3 separate regions of the Homo sapiens genome follow, and all the other regions are linked to region 2. The links are contacts of gene promoters, found by promoter capture Hi-C in human tissues and cell types (Jung and others, 2019). All regions are on one chromosome and are shown on one strand. The core of a region is centred on a gene start or on the middle of the fragment in contact, and the rest is flanking DNA. Distances in the headings are between cores, read along the strand shown.

What was found. Contacts are between HindIII fragments. The study calls those that stand out against the background at their distance.
Region 1: a contact is called between a fragment that was not itself captured here and the fragment with the promoter of AQP8 in region 2, in 1 of the 25 tissues and cell types used here (bladder).
Region 3: a fragment that was not itself captured here is called in contact with the fragment with the promoter of AQP8 in region 2 in 2 of the 25 tissues and cell types used here (IMR-90 fibroblasts and aorta).

What each region holds. Positions count from the first base shown.
Region 1 is chr16:25,083,531-25,086,769 of GRCh38, reverse strand. No RefSeq gene overlaps it. Among named protein-coding and RNA genes, the nearest start is that of LINC02175, 18 kb to the right of the region's middle. The HindIII fragment of the contact is 4,255 bases long and covers 1-3,239 here.
Region 2 is chr16:25,214,841-25,218,374 of GRCh38, reverse strand. It overlaps AQP8 (aquaporin 8), which reads right to left and starts at 1,428. Exons shown (of 6, transcript NM_001169.3): 1 at 1,318-1,428; 2 at 930-1,177. The coding sequence starts at 1,329. The HindIII fragment of the contact is 27,087 bases long and covers 1-3,534 here.
Region 3 is chr16:24,961,899-24,965,419 of GRCh38, reverse strand. ARHGAP17 (Rho GTPase activating protein 17) reads left to right here. Exons shown (of 20, transcript NM_001006634.3): 7 at 1,112-1,223. Among named protein-coding and RNA genes, the nearest start is that of ARHGAP17, 52 kb to the left of the region's middle. The HindIII fragment of the contact is 8,561 bases long and covers 1-3,521 here.

The DNA of each region.
Region 1 (3,239 bases), core at 375-2,874, 130 kb after region 2:
CATATGACTGGAGAAATAATTACAGATACTCTGTGTTTTTCCCCAGGATGAAGATCGTCTCCCAAGTAAATATGTTGAGTTTGACTGGGCACCGTGGCCCACACCTGTAATCCCAGCACTTTGGGAGGCCAAGGCGGGCAGATCACTTGAGGCCAGGAGTTCGAGACCACCCTGGCCAACATGATGAAACCCTGTCTCTACTAAAAATACAAAAATTGGCCCGGCATGGTGGCATGCACCTGTAATCACAGCTACTCAGGAGGTTGAGGCAGGAAAATCACTTGAACCTGGGAAGTGGAGGTTGCAGTGAGCCATGATCATACCACTGCACTCCAGCCTGGGTGACAGAGTGATACTCCGTGTCAATAATTAAATAAGTAAATAAATAAGTTGAGGTCAACTTTCAAATGATCGTCATGAGAAAGCTACACAGTATTAAGTAAGTGTGGTTTAGCCAGAAGAAAAAGAACCAGGTAGAATTCACACCCAGCTCTCGGTAGATGGCAGATTTCACTTTAGGGAACTGCTTTCCTTTGACCCCCTCCCCACTTGCTTTCTTGGCCTGGGATCCTCACTCCAGCATGTCGTGCAGTCTTCAGAATGCGATATCCTTTTCCTTACGACTCTTCTAGCAATTAATGTAATTTGCCTGAACATTTAAAAAATGACCTCTCATAATTTCATAATCTGAATCTTTATGTGTCTTTCTTGATCCCCAGGGCATAGAGAAGGTTACCTGGCCCAGACTAGATGTGCAGTAAATGGTTTTTGTATGTGTGAATGAATGGAAGACTGAAGTTAGTTATTATAGATGAGATATTATGGGGCCATTCCGAGTCCGGTATTCAAGGAGTTTGCAAAGTTGCAGATGACAAGTTTGCTAATGTGTGCTGAGTGTTCGTGCCTAGTAGCATGTTAAGTGGTTTGCTTGGGTTGTTTCATTCAGTCCTCACAGCGGACTCGTGAATTAAGTGCTGTTATTATCACGTTTTTGCAGATGAGGAAACTGAGGCTCAAAGAAGATAATGTGCCCAAGGTCACCTCGCTAGGAAAGAGTGGAGCTGAGATTTAAACTGTGACTTTAAGCCCAAGTTCAAGGCTTCTTACTAGTTTTAACTACATTCCCATACCCCTTTTAATCAATCATGTAAATAAAATCTTAATTCTTTTAAAAAATTAATATGTGTTTCAGCTTGTCCTGTAGAGAAGACTAATACTTACAAATGGGAAATATTCGTCAAGCTTTATTTTTTCTAGTTTGTCTTATGAAATTAAGTTTTTCAGCCTTTCCCAATATAAAGCTATATTTTATATTAAATATGCTTTTTATTTATTTTTTTGAGACGGAGTTTTGCGCTTTTTGCCCAGGCTGGAGTGCAATGGCGCAATCTCAGCTCACTGCAACCTCTGCCTCCCAGGTTCAATCGATTCTCCTGTCTCAGCCTCCCAAGTAGCTGGGATTACAGGCGTGTGCCACCAAGCCCGGCTAATTTTTGTACTTTTTAGTAGAGACAGGGTTTCACCATATTGTTCAGGCTGGTCTTGAACTCCTGACCTCGTGATCCACCCACCCTTGGCCTCCCAAAGTGCTGGGATTACAGGCATGAGACACTGCGCCCAGCCAAGTCTTAGTTATTTCTACATGTAAGTATTTCATGATCCGTTTGTGATTTGGACATCAAATGCTGAGCATAATGCTTCGCTGACCTCACCTGAGACCTGCATCCACTGAATTTTTACTGTATGTGCTTAGGGCCGAATGTAATTAAAGTCTTGTTTATTTACTTCTTTTTTTTTTTTTTTTTTTGTAAATAAGGTCTCCCGTTACGCAAGCTGGAGTGCAGTGGCAGGTTAATAGCTCATTGTAGCCTCAAATGTAGCCTTCCCAGTAGCTAGTGAAGGCCTTTTTAGAGGGGCTCTTGCTTTGAACAGTAGCAAATATATATTTGCCATTTTTGTAGTGAGTGTCTGCATTTGTGCAGTAAATGAGCTCATGAGTAAACTGAGGAGTACATGGACTCATCTCCTCCTCTTTCTTTTCTTTTTTTTTTGGTTCAACATATTTCTGTTGAACAAATGTACATACACACTGAACAGCTATATCCTGTAGTTCAGTATATTTCTGTTGAATGAATGAGTCTCTACCACTTGTTTATAAATATAAACATTTATGTAATTTTAATAGTGAATAACATACATGTTTTGTAACTTGCTCTTTTCATGTCAGCATATACAGATCTGCATCGTTATTTATAATTGCTTTATTGTACTCCTTTGTGGAAATTCCCCTCTATTTAATCTATTTAATCTTAATAGAGGGGAAATTCCCCTCCATTTAATCTGTTCCCTACTGATAATCACTTAGATTTTTGCCTTTTTATTTTTTGTTTTGTTTTGTTTTCTTTTGAAACAGGGTCTCACTCTGTTGCCCAGGCTGGAGTACAGAGACTCGATCACAGCTCACTGCAGCCTCAGACTCCTGGGCTTAAGTTGCCCAGGCTGGTCTTGAACTGAGCTCAAGCAGTCTGCCCACCTCAGCTTCCCAAAGTGCCGGGATTACAGGTGTGAGCCACTGTGCCCAGCCTATGTTTTTATATTAAACAGTGTTATAGCAAATACAAGTATATGTGCATGTTTGCAGGAATCGCTAGTGCAGAGTTTGCACATTATGAATAGCCACTGCCAGGCTTTTCAAGTCCTTTTTTTACCAATTTACAGTTTCACTGAATTGGGTGAGGAAATTTCCTGCCCTACACCCTCTGTCTCACTTTGTTTTGTGCTGCTGTAACAGAATATCTGAGACTGGGTAATTTCTAAAGAACAAAGATTTATTCTTACAGTTCTCAACGCTGGGAAGTCCAAGGTCAAGGGGCCCACATCTGGTGAGGGCCTTCTTGCTGCATCATCCCATGGTGGAAGGTGGACGGGCAAGAGGGCATGCTTGCCTGCAGGAGAGGAAGAGGGGGGAAGGGGCCTGTACTTATTCTTTTATCAGGAACCCCTCCTGCGATAACTAACGCTTTCATGAGGGCAGGGCCCCGTGACCCATCCCCTCTTAAAAATCCGCCCCCTCAACACTGCTGGATGGGGAATGAAGTTTCCAACACATGAACTTTGGGGAACACAGTCAAACCATAGCATTCTGCCCCAGCCCCCCAAATTCATGTCCTCTCACATGCAGAGTACATTCATTCCATCCCAACAGGTTTAATGTTTTCATTTGTTCCAGCACCAAGTCA
Region 2 (3,534 bases), core at 179-2,678:
CTAAGCCAGAGAAGCCTGTCCCTTTCCCTGCCCCTCCTTCTTGATCACCTCTTGACAAGCCAGGACCACTGCAGATCTCTGCATACCCAGGTGGGAAAACCTGGCTCAGGTCTTCTATGCATTTCTGCTTTCCCTAAAACCCCCTTCTAGTGGTAACAATAACACAGCAACCAATGCCTGTTGTATGTTTGGTGTGTGCCAGGCGCTCTACTTCATTTAATTCTCATGACTTCCGCATGAGGCACTTGGATTTGAGCGCTGGAGCCAGACAGCTTGTTCTTGACTCCCGCCTCTGCCACTTTCTGGCCCTCTAAGCTTGGACAGATTACATGGCCTTTCACTTTTGCAGCTGTACAATGGGGCTAATAACAGGACCTACCCCACAAGGCTTTTGTGAGGATTAAATAACTAATATCTATAAAGTAATTAGACTAGTGCCTGGTACATGGTTAGCAATATAGATATGTTGGCTTGAAAAAAAAAACATTTAAAAGCTACTATTCCCATTTTATAGGCGGGGAACTTTGGGTTTAGAGAGTAACTTGCCAGCCAGGCATGGTGTCTCATGCCTGTAATCCCAAAACTTTGGGAAGCCAAGGCAGGAGGATCGCTTGAGACCAGGAGTTCAAGACTAGCCTGGGCAACATAGTGAGACCCCATCTCTACAACAAAATTTAAAAATTAGTTGGGTGCTGCGGCGCATGCCTGTGATCCAGCTACTCAAAAAGAGAATGACTTGCTCAAAGTCACAAGCTCACAGGCTGCGGGGTCTGGAGTTGACCCCAGTCTGACTCCCAACCCCATAGTTATCCAGAGCGCTCCTTGAAATCCCGAATACGTATGCGCCCAGGGGTCCTTGACAACGCCTTTGCTTTCCACACCCAGTGCCCCAAGTCAGCATCAGGCTGAATCCTCAGAGCTGGTCTCACCTGATATTCCCCAGCGTGGCAATCACGAGCCCCAAAGCCAGCCCGTGGGCCAGGGCCGGCTGCAGCAGCCCAGTGTCCGTCCCATTCTCAATGACCGACAGGCACCCGATGAAGATGAAGAGAGCAGAGCCCAGCAGTTCGACCAGACATGGCTGCACAAACCGTTCGTACCAGGACACTCGCCACCTGCCACCCACGCTCGGCTCCCTGGCCTTGTCATTGCCAAATTCAGGCTCACACATGGCTATCTGCCGTAGGGAAAAAGGGACAGAGGACACGGGTGGGAGGCAAGTCCAGATATAGAAGGCCCCGACCCCCAACCTTGAATTAATTCACAGCCCCCCTTGCTCTGCCAGCCTGGAGAGGAAGATGCCGACAGAGGGCTCACCTCTCCAGACATCAGGATCAGATGGCACAAACATCGGACTCTTGCCTGAGCTGCTGGGAAACCTGCACCTGCTGTGCAAGATACTCTTATCTCCTAGGGACAGGACCTGCTGATCACACTATGGGCTCTGCCCCTTTTAAAGGGCTGCAGAGGCTCAATGCTGGTGCAGAGAAAGCAATAAACCTCAGGTAGGAGGCGGCTCTGAGGCCCAGAAGAGGAAATTTTTTTAAATCTCAACAGGGCAGGGTGAGGGAGTCAGGGATTGCTGAACTTTCCGCCAGTGAGGGAAAAACACGCCAGCTTGGCTGTGTCATCTGGGAGCACACTCCAGGCTGTAGAAGGTGGGAGATGGGTCCAGCACCCCAGCTCCCCACGGTCCAAAGCAGAACAGCACATGTTAGTGGGCCCCACTGGGTTGGAACCTCACATGTTAAGAAACAGCAAACAGCCAGGTGCAGTGGCTCACGCCTGTAATCCCAGCACTTTGGGAGGCCGAGGCAGGTGGATCACGAGGTCAGGAGATTGAGACCATCCTGGCTAACACGGTGAAACCCCGTCTCTACTAAAAATACAAAACTCAGCCGGGCGTGGTGGTGCACGCCTGTAATCCCAGCTACTTGGGGGGCTAAGGCAGGAAAATCATTTGAACCTGGGAGACGAAGATTGCGCAGAGCCAAGATTGTGCAACTGCACTCCAGCCTGGGCAACAGAGCAAGGCTCTGAAAAAAAAAAAAAAGGAAAGAGAAAGAAGAAAGAAAGACAGAGAAAGAAAGAAAGGAAAGAAAAGAAAGAAAGAAAGAAAGAAAGAAAGAAAGAAAGAAAGAAAGAAAGAAAGAAAGAAAAAGAAAGAAAGAAAGAAAGAAAGAAAGAAAGAAAGAAAGAAAGAAAGAAAGAAAAAGAAAGAAAAAGAAAGAAAGAAAAGAAGGAAGGAAAGAAAGAAAGAAAGAAAGAAAGAAAGAAAGAAAGAAAGAAAGAAAGAAAAAAGAAAAAGAAAGAAAAGAAGGAAGGAAGGAGAAAGAAAGAGAGGGCGTGTTGGTGTTTGCCTGTAATCCCAGCTACTCAGGAGGATGAGGCATGAGAATCACTTGAACCCAGGACCCAGAGGTTGCAGTGAGCCAAGATCGCGCCACTGCACTTCAGCCTCAGAGTGAGACCCTGTCTAAAAAAAAAAAAAAAAAAAAGAAAGAAAGAAAGAAAAAAGAAAAGAAAGAAACAGCAATCCCATTTTCAATTATTTTTCCAATGAGTCCCACAGCTTCAAACACCTGCAGTCACCGTGACAGCCTGAGCCAGGACTGAGTGTATAGATGACGATCCTTCACAGACAGAGGCAGCAGAGACTGGCAAGAGGTAATGCAATGCAGCGGCAAGACCCATGAACTTTGGAAATAGGCTGCCTGGCGTTCAATCCCAGCTCTGCTGTAAACTAGCTATGTAACCCTTGGGCACATGACTTGGCCTCTCTGGGCCTTTGTTTTCTCATCTGTTAGGTGTGGATGTTAGTGGTTTCACCATGTCATAGGGTCGTTGGGAAGTTTAAATGAGATAATACGGGTAAAGTGCTCAGGACAGTGCTAGACACACAATACCAGTGTCCACTAATTTACAATACATGCTTAGCTGTAACTAATAGCTAATAGTGAGCACTTTCTATGTGCCAGGCACTGGGGCTAAGTGCCTTCTATTATCTCATTTAAACCTCACTGCCACCCTGTGAAGCAGGTACTATTATTACAACCATTTCACAGACGAGGAAGTGGAGTGTCAGGAAGATTGAGTTTCCCAAGATTACACAGCTTATATGATCACAGAACTTGTGGGCTGTCACAAAAGGATAAATACTGTATCTGATTCCACTTGTATGAAGTACCTAGACTAGTCAAATTCATAGAGACAGAAGTAGAATGGTGGTTTCCACGGCCCGAGGGGAAGGGAGAATGAAGAGTTTGTGTTTAGCGGGTACAGATTTCCTGTTTGGGAGGAAAGTTTTGGGATGGATGATACAGTGGCACAACAATGTGAAGTACTTAATGTCACTGAAATGTACACTTAAAAATGGTTCCAAATGCTGGGTGTGCTTGGCTCACACCTGTAATCTCAGCACTTTGGGAGACCAAGGCAGGAGGATCACTTGATTTTAGGAGTTTGACACCAGTCTGGCCACATGGTGAAACCCTGTCTCTACTAAAAATACAAAAATTGGCTGGGTGTGGTGGT
Region 3 (3,521 bases), core at 817-3,316, 250 kb after region 2:
GGGCTCACTGCAAGCTCTGCCTCCCAGGTTCACGCCATTCTCCTGCCTCAGCCTCCCAAGTTGCTGGGACTACAGGCGCCTGCCACCACGCCCAGCTAATGTTTTGTATTTTTAGTAGAGATGGGGTTTCACCGTGTTAGCCAAGATGGTCTCGATATCCTGACCTCATGATCCGCCCACCTCGGCTTCCCAAAGTGCTGGGATTACAGGCGTGAGCCAACGCACCCGGCCAACGTGGGTTTTCTTGCTGCATTTTATAACATCTATGTTTACATTTAAAGTGATAGAGTTTTCCACAACACCAGACATACCCATTTTCAAACAGAAGGTCAAAGCACATTTGAAAATCAAAACAAATTGTTTTCTATGATTATTTCCCACTTTTCCCCTATTATTACTATAGTTTCTTTTTTTTTCTTTTTAGTGCTTTCATAGCTATTGATTGATACCTACATTATTATTGTTATTGTTGTTTGTAGACATGGAGTCTTGTTGTGTTGTCCAGGCTGGTCTCAAACTGCTAGCTCAAGTGATCCTCCCACCTTAGCCTCCCAAAGTGTTGGGATTACAGGCGTGAGCCACCGCACCCAGCCTCATAGCTACACTATTGAAGTTCTGGCTTTTACTTTCTGAAAGTAATCCCAGGTCACAGATGGTAGTATGGTAGTGGAAAGAGCCACAAGGAGTTCTCAAAAGCAGGAGCTGATTCCCAGTGGCACAGGGAACATTTCAGCTCAAAGCAAGAGAGCAAGGAGAGCACCTTGCTCTCCTCCGGTGGCAGGGATTCCATGGTTGGCCACCACAAGAAAGGGGTTCCATGGATTTCTCTCCAGTAGTAGAGTTTGTGTGAGACAAGATGTGGTTGGTTATGCTCAAAGCAGACCACTACTCCTAGCACTATGAGAGTCCTGTCATGGTGAGAAGCTAAAGTCTCCTTTTGCCTGCTTCCATTCTTAGAGAATAAGCTCAAGAGAATTTGGCATCCTGGGCAATGATACCCCTTCCAGGTAGAATCAATTGTGGGGAAGGATCTATCTCCACCAGGTCCTGCCTCCAGCTGTTGAGTATACACAGCTGGTTCTCAGATGCTGGTGACCCCTTTGTTTTGCAGGTGGAACCAAGCTCACAAATCCTCAGGAACCAACTTTCAGGGGCTTCCATCAAAAATAGATACTCTAAAGGAAGAGATGGATGAAGCTGGAAATAAAGTAGAACAGTGCAAGGTATGAGAATTCCTTGATAAATGTATCTTTTCGGTTTTTGCAAATGAGGGATGAAAGTTCAAATGTAAGTTACTTAATGTTTTAAATAATTTCTATCAGAATATTTTGAATGATTTTAAAGGTAGGTTTTATTTTCTTCTTCTCTAAGACTATATTATTTTATGATCAGAATAAAACATTTTAAATTTCAAATAGGATATTTTTAAAAACTTGACAAGATGTCTAAGCTTATTTAAAGATGAAGTCAGAAAAAAGGAAAGAAAACCATAGCAAAACATATAATAAAATTACAGCGATTAAAAATGCATAAGAAATACAAAAGTAAGAAAAAAGAAGTAAAACTGTATAAGAAGCATTAAAATAGATCAGTGAAATAGTATAGGTTTTCTGGAATGAATGCTATAATGTAAAATTTAATATACAGTAAATGGCTCATATGTCCTTGGAGAAGATAAGGATTACTTTTAAAATGTTGCTTGAACAATTGGTTTGTAATTTGGGAGAAATAGAGCTTTTTATCTCATAAATTACAGATTAATTAGATGGTCAAGTGATCTCATTCTCTCTGCATCCACCTGTGTAGATAGATGTTCATTCTGAATGTTATTTGAGGTGAAATTATTTGAAATGGTAAAGGAATAGGTCTTCGGGGAGTCTTGACAATCTAGAGTCTTAAGTCTGGATTGACTTAGACTTTTCCTGCTCTTATTTTTCATTGTTTTAAAAAAATTGTTTTTTTATTTCCTGCTAATATTAAGACTGTTATATTTTAGTTCATTTAGGTCATGACATACTTTGCTTTTCAAAATAGCAAACCTTGATCAGTTAACTGCAATTAAATGACTTGTTTAAAATAATATAGTGGGTAGAAATATAAGAAAAATATAAAAATAATATAGTGGGTAGAAATTAAAACTAAACTCACAAAGTTATGCCTTTGTTTTAAAAAGTTTTTATGTTTAAAAGATGATATTCAGATAAATGCTTCTACTAAAATAATGTCACATTGGCTTATTTGTGGTCTGAAGAGTTGTAGCTTTGTCAGTGTCATTTACCCAGCAGTCTTCTTAATATCTGGTCTAACCTAGATCCTGGCTATTGCCTACTTATTGCACACAAATTTGGGTAGAGGTTTAGGAAGTCATCATGGGCTGATGTCTGTTCTCTCAACTTCCACACTTGTCAGTATTTCAAGTGGTAAAAACTTAAGAAAATATTTTCTGCCTCCTTCTCTCTCTATGCATACCTTGTGGGTAATTTCCTCAGATCTATGTTCTGTTTCACTGATTCTCTCTTTAGCTATGTTTGATCTGCTACTCAAATAACACTGAGTTTTTAATTTCATTGACTATATTTTCCATTTCTGAAGTTCTAGTTATTCAAATCTTTTTGATACTACATTATTCTTTTCTAGTGTTTCTTTCTTTTAAGTCATTTTAAACATACTTATTTAATAATCTCTGTTAATTCTGTTTTCTGAAATTCTCTGTGAGAGTGGTAGGTGTCTGCTTGTGGTGGATTATTTCCTCATGTGTTTTGTAATTATTTGAACTCATTTTAAGAGGGGCTTTATCTGTGGGACTATCAGGGATTGGGAATGAGACTTCCCAGAGAGTATTACCAGTCCAGGTCCATTTTTAATTAAACTTAAATCAGTTTGGGGTTTCTGGGACCACATGTCAGTAAATTTAAACTTTAAACCCTCCTGAAAGCAGGCCTATGTTTTGTGAAATCTCTTGGCCAATGTTTCTCAGACCTAAAGCCCATTCCAAAACAGACATACTTCCCCATGATTTCCATGTGATGCTAAGTGCATTTGTTCTAATCTGTTGTTTCGTTGAGAGTACAGTTCTTCAGGAATCTTATCTTTATGCATGATATATGTGTACTTGTTTCTCCTTACTAGTCCCCAAGGCTTCAGACACCTTGGTCACCAAGACTGGCACAAATCTGCCCCAGGTCATCTCCAGCTTCCATTGATGCTTAGCATTCCGACTTTTTCTTTCTTTCTGCTTCTTTTTCTTCTTTCTCTCTTTGTGTGTGTGTGTGTATGGTGGGGTTGAGGGGAATCAAGGAATTTACTTTATTGCTTTCCCAGTTATTATAAAAGGATGTTCATTACTTCTAACTAGCATTTCCAAGTTTTTGTCATAAATGGGAGGCCCTTCACATTAATTTGTGTACCTTGATGCCAAAAACAGAAGTCATTACATTAAAAAAAAAACAAACTCTCTCTACATATATATTTTCCGGCATATAAGTTTTCATATATATATATATATATAAAATTCCTATGTA